2 separate regions of the Homo sapiens genome follow, and region 1 is linked to region 2. Evidence: promoter capture Hi-C in human tissues and cell types (Jung and others, 2019). All regions are on one chromosome and are shown on one strand. Each heading gives the region's core, a stretch centred on a gene start or on the middle of the fragment in contact. The rest is flanking DNA. Distances are from core to core; before and after follow the strand shown. Region 1 has its middle 150 kb from the start of FIGN. Region 2 holds the start of FIGN (fidgetin, microtubule severing factor).

Region 1 (6,140 bases), core at 1,299-3,798, 150 kb after region 2:
GTTTGTGGTAATTTGTTACAGCAGGCAGAGGAAACTAAAACAGCACACGAAGTTCCATCAGATGCTATACTGTCAGCTGCTGAAAATCAATCCACTCTAAGGAATTTATTATACTGCATGTTCTCAATTTGGTCATACGCTCAGCTTGGTCATACTCTCACATGGAATCTGAAACATTAGCGATTACCAGTGTTGTTCATATAAAGTAGCAGGGGAATAAGAGGATAGAGTTAAATAACATAAAACATAGTCACTACATTTGTACTTCTGTAGCTAGACCTGAGATCCCTGCTGGAACATGTCATAAGGAACTGCCCATGACATCATAGGTGTGAGTAGAGGGAAAGGTGGTAGAGCAGTTCAGTCCACTACAACAGGAATCTAAGCCCTCTCCTTCTGCAATTTACTTATGTCTTCTAGACTTGCATGGTATCATTTCCATTTTATACAGAAATGTTCTACAGACTTCTAATTTTATGGTTCCAGAATTATAATTATTACTATTTTTTAGACACAGAGTCTCAATCTGTCATACAAGCTGGAGTGCAGGAGTATGATAATAGCTCGAACTCCTAGGTTCAAGCAATCCTCCTGTCCCAGCCTCCTTAGTAGTTAGGACTACAGGCATGTACCAGCATGCCTGGCTAATTTTTTAAAATGTTAAAAAAAAATTGAACCCAGGGTTTCAAACTCCTGGGTTTAAGTGATCCTCCAGCCTCAGCCTCCAAAAGCATTAGTATTACAGATGTGAGCAACTGTACCCAGCTAGTTCCACAAATTATATAACATCAGTTAAAAATGAGCAAGTGGGATGGATAGTAAGTACCGTGGGTATTTACGGTTAGGTATTTGTTCTCTACTGGGTATGGTAGCAAGTAAATAGTTGCTTTTTCTGCAGAGACTAGTTTGTTAGTGAAAGAGGGCATTTTACTCAAAATTTCTATAGGTCCACACTGATTCTCCTATTGGAAATTTCCAGAAACTTCATGTAAATAGCAAAAGAACTTGTTGATCAGTTAGCATAGTTTAGCCTTCTGGGTTACAGATCAAAGTGGAAAATGGAGTGGATGTATCAGTCTGCCATTGACACTTCTAAAACCCAGTAATATTGGTTTTTTTAGGTCATAAGGCCAAGTTATAGAGCTTTTTCTTGTTCTGGGACCCACTCAAATCTTGTAATGTTAAGCTTATCCACTAAGTTCATGAAAGTAGCATGCCCAAATGTGTTATATGTTTTCTCCAAAATCCAAACGTGTACATCAAACATTGTGCATCTTTCATTGCGTTGGAAAGTGCAGCAAATCAACTCTTACTTTAAGGAGGATCTGCTGACATGGCCCAGACCACTATACCCCTAGCAACTTCACCAGTGACAGGTTCCTGCATTTTCATGGGGTTTATTTACAACCCTTTGGGACACTTGTCTCTTACATTTAAGATGTTGTCTTCTGATTTAAGATGCCCCATCATCATGTTCTGTGATGTATCAAGGCAATAAAGTTCTCTCCAGATCATATTAAGATGAACAGGAGATGAGCTGAGGTAGGTTAAGTCAAGAGAGTAAAGGCATATTGATATTCCTGCTATGTGAAGGAAAGAGCTTCTTTTCATCTTTACTAATGGAGGGAAGGGAAAATGTGTTTGTTAAGTCACAGGGGTCAGGGACCATACTGATTTCCTCCACTAAAGATACTATATTGAGAATGTCAGATGTGATTGATATCATTGCTTGATTAAGTTTCTGATAATATATCCTCATTATTAAAGACCCATCTGACTTTTGCATAGGCCACTATGCAAATGAATAAAACGGGGAATTCATACCACCTCTGTAATTGTTTAAGCATTTGGGGTAGCACATCCTGCTGGACTTTTAGCTTAGTATCTTAGCAAAGGCAGGCAATAAAAGGGTCCAAAATGTAGTTTGGACCTTATTATGCAATAAAACCCACTCTGCATCAGGAAATTCTTTATTAAGTTTTTTTATTCTCACTATACATTCTTGGCCTATAAACAAATGGATCTGAAGTCCCTCAGAACACCTTATGAAATAAACTTGGACTAAGATTTTACTTATATCTGTAAGTCTCAACTCTGACCATTGGACCTATGTGGTGTTTTAGGTCTCCAGGGATTAGTATCATTTAAGAGACTGTATCCAATAATCCCATAAAGTGTGTAGTTCTCCAGTGCAGGGATTCTCAAATTATGGTCCCTAAACCATCAGCTTCAGTGTCACCTGAGGACTTATTAGGAATATCAATTCTGGGGTCTCCACTCCAAACTTACTGAATCAGTGAGACCCAGAAATCTGTGTTCTAAAAGCCATCTGCGTGATTCTGATGCACACTTAAGTTTAAAACCCACTGCTCCAGTGCATAATTATTAAGTAGTAACACGTAACCCTAAGTCAGGTGTAGAGGAAGGCTCATGCTATGTATCTTTGATCTGATTGCCAGGTCATTCCTTATAGATCTGGCCTTCTCAAACTAAGGTCTCTTATAAATTGGCTTTGGTCTGAGAACAAAGTAAGAATAAGTGAATCTCCACTACCATAAATCAAGTTACTATTTAGCCCACCAAACCTCCTAGGATTTTTCTCCTTATATAGACCAAACAGCTCCTTGTTGGACAGTCCTTTTATTTTGTTTTAAGGACCTTGTGATTGAATAGCTGATGCCAAAGATCTCTGAAGGTCAAACTTCCTGATGACTATAGGGAGGGAACCATCGTTGTGGCTTATTATGGTAATTGTGCCCACTTGATCTATAACGAGTAAGCACCCCTACTTGACTTCTGAGTCTCTGGCATCCTATTATTTCCATTGTCATCAAGAAATCTAACTCCATTGTACCATGCTCTACCATCACCTCTGGAGAACAGCCACCATAGAACATTACTTTGGTTTTCAAGGATAATGGTATCCCTCCTTACCAACAGATTCATTTTAAAAAGTGTTGGTAAAGGGCGTGGCCTCAGGGCCCTTTTGGGTGATATAAATAAAGACTGGCTGACCAGTAGCATATAATAAATCAATTCCAGCATTCCCATTTTCCTAAGACTTGATTTTTCTATATTGTGCCAGGGAAGTTACATTATTCAAACTCATTGAATTTACCCCACTATTGACAGAGTCCACATTTTAGATAACCAACTTAATAGACTTAACTCCTAGGTGCTCCAGACAACACATTTGAGCCAAAATCCTGAGTGAATAAACCCTTATCAATAAATTCAACCTAATCCAGCCTCATATGTTTTCTTCCTTGGTCAAACAGCCATATAATTTACTTCCTTGTGTGCTCTCCAGATTCCTGTCAATAGAAATCAATGAGGTTCTACAAGTCTTTCATGGTATAGGATTTCTTCCTTCCAGCCTTGTACTCCTCTTTTAGATTATATCAGAGTCTAATACCCATTATTAAGGGTGGTAGAAATTAATCCTAGGAAAGGACAAGCACCAGTCTGAGAGGCAACTACCTAGACCCAGCCATTAAAACACTGGTTCCCTTAAATACTGGGGGGAGGCCGGGCGCGGTGGCTCACGCCTGTAATCCCAGCACTTTGGGAGGCCGAGGTGGGTGGATCACGAGGCCAAGAGATCAAGACCATCCTGACTAACACGGTGAAACCCCATCTCTATTAAAAATACAAAAAATTAGCCGGGCATGGTGGCGGTGCCTGTAGTCCCAGCTACTCGGGAGGCTGAGGCAGGAGAATTGCTTGAATCCAGGAGGCAGAGGTTGCAGTGAGCCGAGATTGTGCCACTGCACTCCAGCCTGGGCGAAAGAGCGAGACTCTGACTCAAAAAAAAAAAGTAAAATAAAAAATAAAAATAAAAAATAAAACATACTGGGGGGAGGCTGCCTCTGCTGGAAAGGCAAGGACAAGGGATATACCCATTTGAAGTTCTCAGCCTCATTTTTGTCTACCCAAATGTACATATTTCAACACACGAGATTTTTCTTTTCACCTTTCTACCAGCTCCTTTGCCTTGGTATAAAAGATCTAGTAGGTTTAATTGGCTATCAAATTTTCAGCTCTTACATTCCAGCCATGGGCTTGATTCTCAGTCATATCTTCCCAACTTCGGGAGATGAAGGACTCCTTCATTGCTGCCAGTGACTTGATTTTTCTATGTATAATTGCAGTTTGATATTTAATTTTTCCTTTATACATTCTTTAGGGCCACCAAAATAAGCCAGCTGATGCCACCATGTTTACAATCACCATTGTTGCCACAGTGATAAGTACCATAGCTACTTGATTGCTCAATACCTTGCCCCATCCACTGGTGATAATTTGGGTAAGCATAATGCTGCTGTATGCCATGCATTGCCCATGCCTCATCCCCTCCACTTCCCTAGCAAGAGGGTTATCAATTTACTTTTCAAACATGTGGAAAATAATCCCAGAATCTCATTTGAGAGTCAGTTCCTGGGGCCACTTCCAATAGCAATCACTGTATTATTCTTATTAGACTATAGGGAGGGAACCAGGAAAACACAGTTTTATTTTCTCTCTCAGCAGGGAACAGATGGCATACTAAAATTAGGATAATAAAGGAGTGTTTAATAAAGAGATTTTTACAAAGGGTGAGCAGGGGGTAGGGAAATCATAAGAGATAATGAAATACCTAGAATAAGAAATATCAGGGATCTGCTACCACTCCTAGGGCAGAAAGGATAAGGAGAGGGGTGTACACTGCAAGTAGGGAAAGCTGGACAGAAAGGGCCATTTGGTAGGAGCTATGACATTTGGTTGAGGGAACCAGACAGCCCATGAAAATACCATAGAGAGGAATAAATACATCATCTTCTTCCTTCCTTTCCACTGCAAGAACTTCCCTTTGGCAGAAACTGATAAAAATCCAGAGGGTAAGAGAATTCATAGTTGACTCATGTGAATAGATAAAGGGGAACTAGAGAAGAAACAGAAGCTAGCCAGCATAATATTGATTACTCCCAACTCAATGTCTCTAGCTCCAATGTCGCTCATGAGGGTCAGACTTTTATATGCAACTGCCTGTTCAACATTCCTCTTGGATGTTCACTTAAACATCTCAACTTTAGCATATTTGAAAGAGAAATCTTGGTTTTGCATTCCTCTCCTCACCTACACCTCTCCCTCTTTCATCTTCTCCATCTTAATACATGTCATCACAATGCCCCCAGATGCTCAATCCAAAAATGTAAGGATTATTCTTGATTTTTCTTTTCCTCACACCCAACCCATCATCAAGTTATGTCACTTTTGAGTCTAAAATATGCCCTAAATCAGACCATTTCCTATTATCTCAACCACTTCCACCCATTCCAAGTAGTCATTAAAACTCACCTAAACTATTATAGTAACCTCTCAACTTGACTCCATGATTCTACACTTGGCCTGTTATACTCTATCAACCACCAAGGAACCAAGGAATACTCCTAAAAATTTAAATCATATCATGATTACCATCTGCACAAAAGCATCCCATTAAACTTAATAGCAAAATCTAAACACCTTATTATGCCCTAGAATGCCCTGTATTGGCATTCTATATATCTGCTTGGGCATTCTATTTAACTCTCCAGACTCATTTCCTAATGTGCTGCTACTCCAACCCCCTCACTGGCTTTCTCATTGTTTTTAGAAAACACTCTACATTTTTTTTTTTTTTTTAAGACGGAGTCTGGCTCTGTCCCCCATGCTGAAGTGCAGTGGCATGGTCTCAGCTCACTGCAACTTCCGCCTCCCGGGTTCAAGCAATTCTCCTGCCTCAGCCTCCTGAGTAGCTGGGATTACAGAGGCACGCCACCATGCCTGGCTAATTTTTGTATTTTTATTAGAGACAGGGTTTCACCACATTGGCCAGGCTTGTCTTGAACTCCTGACCTCCAGGTGATCCACCCACTTCGGCTTCCCAAAGTGCTGGGATTACAGGAGTGTGCCACTGCGCCCGGCCCACTCTAAATTTATTACTGTATTAGAATATTTGGTTTTTTTTATTCCTGCTGCTTAGATCGTTTATGCCCCAGATCTTCAACTGATTCTTTTATGTCCTTCAATTCTATCATGTCATGTCATGTCATATCATCAAAGGTTCTCTGACAACCACATCTGAAGTAAGACACTCCTACCATTTTTTATCATATTGC
Region 2 (5,815 bases), core at 2,578-5,077:
CATTTAAGTTCAAAACTAAAAAACAATATTTGAAAAATTAAATTGAATTGCGTTTAGCATTTTATGAAAAACTATACATGATAGCCCTCCAAACTTCTTTCCTTAAAGCATCTTGTGACCTACATCTCCCTCATCTTTTCTACCCGCTGTCTACCTTCTGCCTCCACTGATTTTTTTTCCTTTCCTTTCCTCTCCCATCACTTAGGTAAAGCACATCTCTGTGTCCAGCCTAGCTCATATTTTCCTTAGTCCAGTGCAGACAAGTCTATGGTCATTTGCAAAATCACATTCAGTATCACTTTGCTTATTCCCTTAACCTTCACTTTTGTTGTTGTTGCTTACATTATTTTGAGAAGAAAAAGCAGAAAAAAGTAGAATTCCCCTCTGAATTATCTTGAAAGGAAGGCATACACACACACACTCCTGAAGAAGAGTTATGTTGATTTTTCTTCTGATTTTCTTAAAAAGCACAAGTTTGAGTATACTGTGTATTAGAATTTCACATATTAGTCAAAATGTTATGCATTATAATGTCTGTGCATTTAAAAAGTAAAATAGAAAGAGAAATGATATTGCTAATAGAGTGGGAAAAATTAGTCAAATTTATTATTTTCTGAAATAACTGTTTCCCTGACTAGCCAATCAACTTCCTTTAAACACTCAATATTTAATTCTCATGTTATATCAAGAAGTTTCAAAAGATATTATAGAGATGGATGTCAGCTACAGCCAGAAACATTTCTTTTGATTAAAAGTTTTGAAGATAAATGCATACAGAATATGATGACTGTTAAAGTGCTTTTTAATCATACCACATAATTAAAGATAGTTTTATTAAAACAACAAAAACTGAACATCGCAAACAATGCCATGAATCTCTGTGGAAAAGAAAGTCAAGTTTTATTTTCCTTTGCTTAAAATAATTGGAGAAAAGCAACTTTTACCTATACTTAAAAAAAAAGGGAGAAATAGTGCAATGACGAACTCTCCTGTGTATCTTATTATTATGGAAGTCCCATAATGTATATTCTATTATGTAAGTGTCTTTTATTCCCAGAGTATATGTAATTTTGAACAATTTAGAAACTCTGTACCTCTATCCAGTGCTCTTTTGAACAGTTTTCCAATTATTTGATTCCAAAGTTAATTATATTTATTTGCATGTTGAATGATTTTTTTATAATGTGTATTTCAAATGAATCTATAAGGGAATTGGAAAGGTACAGTTATTATCTATTAATAAACTCTTGCTGACCACACTTTTTCCTCCTCTTTTTAAAGAGCAGGGGTTGTTTTATTTTAGATATTACAGATGAATGGCTTTAAGTCTGTCATCAAAATACATTGTTTTTATATTCAGTGGGCACTGTATTATATATTTTATTCACTATTTGAATTTACACAAGGAACTGTAAATTCAACGCTAGGATTTAATGTTAAAGGTTGATGAGCTCTGAACTTTTTTAACAAACAAGAACAGAGCAGTTTTGCCCGAATTGCACAGAGCATCTGCTGTGTGTCCAGAGGACTTTTGGTCGTCATTCCCCAAATGGGCAATAACTGCGATTATGAGCGCTTCACAGTTTTTTTTTTTTTTTTTAATTCATCTGTACTCAATCCAACAGTGACCCACAGATATTTCCCTACACTTATTTCTTTGTGGTAAAATCCAATGAACAACTTTTCGTAATATCATTTTCAAAGCCATCTTGTAAAATATAACTAAAGAGGTTTCAGTGTTCTCTGTTACATCAGAATAAAGTTCTTCTGTTTTATTTCGAAGACTCCTTTTTTAAAAAATTCACAGAAAGGTCAAATCCATTCCAAATAGAAATCTCATTGCTTAGAAATATTTCTTAGGATCTCGAATCACTCTTTTTTTGTCTTTTAAATTCTGTCATCTGCCTAGATTTAACTGAAATAATTTTTATTTCTCAGTGTGTTAGCTAAAGGCATCCATTCAAAGGTAAGAACATCATAAAAGGTGAATGGAATTAATTTCAAAGTATATATTTGGCATTTTTAAAGAGCTGCATTTCAGCATCTGGAGAGCTGCAATTTAGGCTATCAAATCTACAACAGAGAAGCTGGGGGAAATGTGAACACCCTTATGAGGAGGGTCAGTCCTCAGCAAGTGCATTTTCGGTTCCAACCTTCAAAGGTAACATTTTCAGCTTGATGGGCTCCTGGTGGAATATATAATTTGCCTCTTTCATTCTTAGCTTCGTTGAAATATAGAAGACTGGATGTCTACCAGGCCAAAGTATAAACTCACCATTTATCTATTAAAGTCATATTTAATGAAAACGAAGAGAAATTATGACCCAATTCACTCTCTTTCTCATTACAATTCCTAAAGAACTTTGCCGGGCACATTATCTCGTAGACATCATGATCAAATGTTATTGTTTGCTTTATTATCTCAGTTGGATGGTTGGCTAGTCTAGAATGAAATAGGTTGAAGGCAATACTCTCAGCCTAGAAGTCTGAATGAGGTTCCCATTCAAATGATCCTGATTGTTTGCGGGTGGGGCGGGGTGATTAGTAAACCAACTGAGCTTACACTGCATAGTAAGCGTCTGGATGCCGCACATTTACATCTAACAAGAGACCCCAGAAAACGTGTGTGTGTTTCTTAAACCTTATGTTCCGAACAAAAGGCTATCTCAGCAACAGACAATCAGCACTGCATTGCTCCCTGGGATGCGAGCAACACACTCAACTGCACATTTCATTCTTCCTCGGCTCCCAGCACCACAAAGCCCCTACTCTCTTCCCACTCCTGGGTCCCCAGATTACTCCATAGAGGGGGGTTGGGAAGGCAGAAGCCTAACGTCTATGCCTGCGCACCAGCCGCCGACACCAGGGCCCCCCGGGCGCTGCTTTCTCCAGCCCGAGCCGCCTGGGGGAGGTAGGGAGGGGAGCCAGGGAGCGCGAGAGGGGACCGCACACCTAGACACTTAGGATTTTATTTATTCACAGGGAGGCGGGGGAGGGGAACTGGGCGAACGCGAATTTTCTCCCCGAAGTTGCCTCTTCTAAGCAGATCAAGTCGTTTTCTGGCTGGTGCTGGGGGCCCCGGGGAGGGTGCCGGTGAGGTCCAGGCTCTCGAGACCAGATCCCGTCCCGTGCGCAGAGGGGGTGGGGAAGGGCGGACGGGCCGCAGCTGTCGAGAGGGCCGGGAACCGGCAGGGAAGAGCCCGCGGGCCGGGGAGCAGCGCGGCTCTGTCCCGGGCCCTCCAACGCAGGCCGGGGAGCGCAGGGGCCGGCTGGTCACGCGTGGGAAAGAAAGCCCCCTTCCCCCTACGGCGCTGCTCCCCTTTCCCCAGGCTGGGCCGCCAGAGAGTGCGTGCAGGGAGAGCTGCGAGTCCCCGCGCGCGTAATCATGACCTCGGGGCCCCCTCCGGGCCGCGTGAGCGCATCGGCGAGGCTGGGCGGCCGCCGCGGCCCCGGCCGTGTAACATGACCCGAGCGGCCGGCCGGCCGGCGCGGCGCGGCCATTGAGCCCTCCCTGCCCATGAATCTCTGGCGCGTCTCTAGCTCGCTCGCCGGCTCGCCTCCCGCCTCCCTTTCTCCCCCTCCAGCTCCGCGGGCTCCGTGCGCCTCTCCCTCTCCCTCCTGGTCCTCCCGCTGCCCGTCTCTCTCCACTGCCCGCCTCTCGCCACTGCCTCCCGTCTTCTCTCCCTCACGGCAGCCTCCGTCTCTTTCTCCCTCTCTCCTTTGAAAACTGATCTTTGGCTCTTAGTGTGAAAGTGATTTGAATTTGGCTCTGCGGCGCTCTGCGCCTGCGCCCAGCCTCTGGCATGCTGGCTCCTTCCAAGCAGCTGTTTTGGGTTTGAAATTCCAACATGGCAGAGGCTGCAGTCCGTCTTCCCTTCAAAAACTTGGAATGATTTCAAATCATAGGCACCTTCACTTAACCCTAGCTTCCATTCATCAGCAAACACATCGGATCGATGCTACGCTAACCTATCGGGTTCTCTCTCCGCGCGTTCAGGTAAGAGGAGCTTCGTAGTTTTCTACCATCTGTTTAAATTTGTTTTTGTTTTATTTTTAAAGAATATAAATACATCCAAGACCTGTAATTAAAAGAGATCTTCAGTTGTGCCGTAAACATTAAATTCAATTTCCACTCGTTTCTATTCTGTACGCCAACCTGCTGTCTAATTTCTCTGTTCAAAGTAGCCCTGAAACATTATAATGCATATTTTTGCTGCTTAATCATTGTAACAATAGTATGGGATTAAGAGTTCGCGATTGCAAGAATCTCGCTTTTCGCTATATTGGGCTTACTTATTACTATCTTTTTACTTCAAAAATAAAAAAATAAGAAAGCGGAGCCATAGGGTGGGGCTAGACTTTCTTCGGGAACTAACTTCTAAGTAAATAAGAAGTGTAAATAAGAATCTTGCACACACACAAAAAGTTGAGGTTAAATTACAATCTCGTGGCTGGGGGAACGAGAAAATGTCAGAAGATCGGTTGCAGAAAAATGTAAGCACATCATCTAGGAGGGGGTACAGCGTGGTGGGCGTATTGTTGGCAAGGAACGGGAGAGAAAGATGTATAATTTAATGGTATATACAATCCACTGATCCTATTACCGTCCTCCCCGGAGCTCTTGTTAGTTTCAATGGGAGTGAGTGAAATTGACATGGACTTGCATTCCTGGTCATGTGCTTTTTTTCCTTTCTTTCTTCTCCTGTGATCTGAGATCCCCTTTTTGTTGATGTTGCTTTCCCCCTTAATTATATGCATGTAGGTTAAATGAATACCTGACGAAAGGGCCCACGTTTCAAGGCAGTGACATTTGATAGCTGAGAGGAAAAGTGGCTTTAATGAAAAGCAACCTTTGGAATTCCTGCTTGTGAGAAATCCAATTCAGCTTTTTGTGCTGCCAGCAAGAAATGATCAGTAGCACCAGTGTTTATGGTATGTCAGTTTTGGAATTTACTTCCTTTGCATCTAAATAGGAAAGACAAATGAAATAGCATGATAAAACCATTGAAGACTGCCTGGCAAGCAGTTGCTCATGATATAGAATTCCTTTTTTTAAAAAATATATGTTTAATGTCACCATGCTTTTTTTTCTTTTGCTATCACTTGTTTGTATATTGCAGTTTTGATTAATATATTACTTGAATCCACTTTTATCGGTTTTAGCTGTCATCCAGAAGTTGCACGTTACTAGTAATGCACTATATATATATAACTGCTGAAGTCAAATAGTATGTAAATTAGTTAAACTCAGTGTGGGTTTTTTTTTTTTTTTTTTTTGAAGGAGGGAGGCTGGGCAAAGGGGAGAGGGCAGGAGTGTTGGGAAAGATTACTAACTAATGAAAGTGTATCTATATATATGTACACACACAGGAACAGGACTGGATGAAAATTTTATTTTTCTCAATCTATTAATGCAGTTTGACTATCTGCTCTTGATGTTTGCACTTTGTGGAGTAATCAGTTCTTCTGAGTGTGGTTTTTTTTTGGGGGGGGCGGGTAAGTGAAGAGGTGTCTTTTACATGAAAATAAAAATTATATTTTGATTGTCCAAAGTCCTTGATGTCTTTTAAAGAGTAGGGATAGGTTTTTCTTCCCCCTTTCCATTCACTCGTCTGCCTGTCAGCGCTTTTTACTTTTAACTTGTGACAGAATTAAATAATCAGGCACTGAAATTGACTTCGTTTGAAATCGCTCTTTCCTTTCTTTACAAAAAAAAAAAGTCAGTTAAATGGAGTGAGAGGGGATTTTCAATAGCTCTTGTGGCAGTGCCCTGTGTACACTTTGTAATATTCAATTAAGACAGAGGGAACAACAA

Evidence for each region. Contacts are between HindIII fragments. The study calls those that stand out against the background at their distance.
Region 1: a contact is called between a fragment that was not itself captured here and the fragment with the promoter of FIGN in region 2, in 1 of the 25 tissues and cell types used here (mesenchymal stem cells).

What each region holds. Positions count from the first base shown.
Region 1 is chr2:163,579,097-163,585,236 of GRCh38, reverse strand. No RefSeq gene overlaps it. Among named protein-coding and RNA genes, the nearest start is that of FIGN, 150 kb to the left of the region's middle. The HindIII fragment of the contact is 4,440 bases long and covers 329-4,768 here.
Region 2 is chr2:163,734,020-163,739,834 of GRCh38, reverse strand. FIGN (fidgetin, microtubule severing factor) reads left to right here and starts at 3,827. Exons shown (of 3, transcript NM_018086.4): 1 at 3,827-3,997; 2 at 4,763-4,932. The coding sequence starts at 4,908. RefSeq lists enhancers at 2,188-2,703, 2,704-3,220. The HindIII fragment of the contact is 21,926 bases long and covers 1-5,815 here.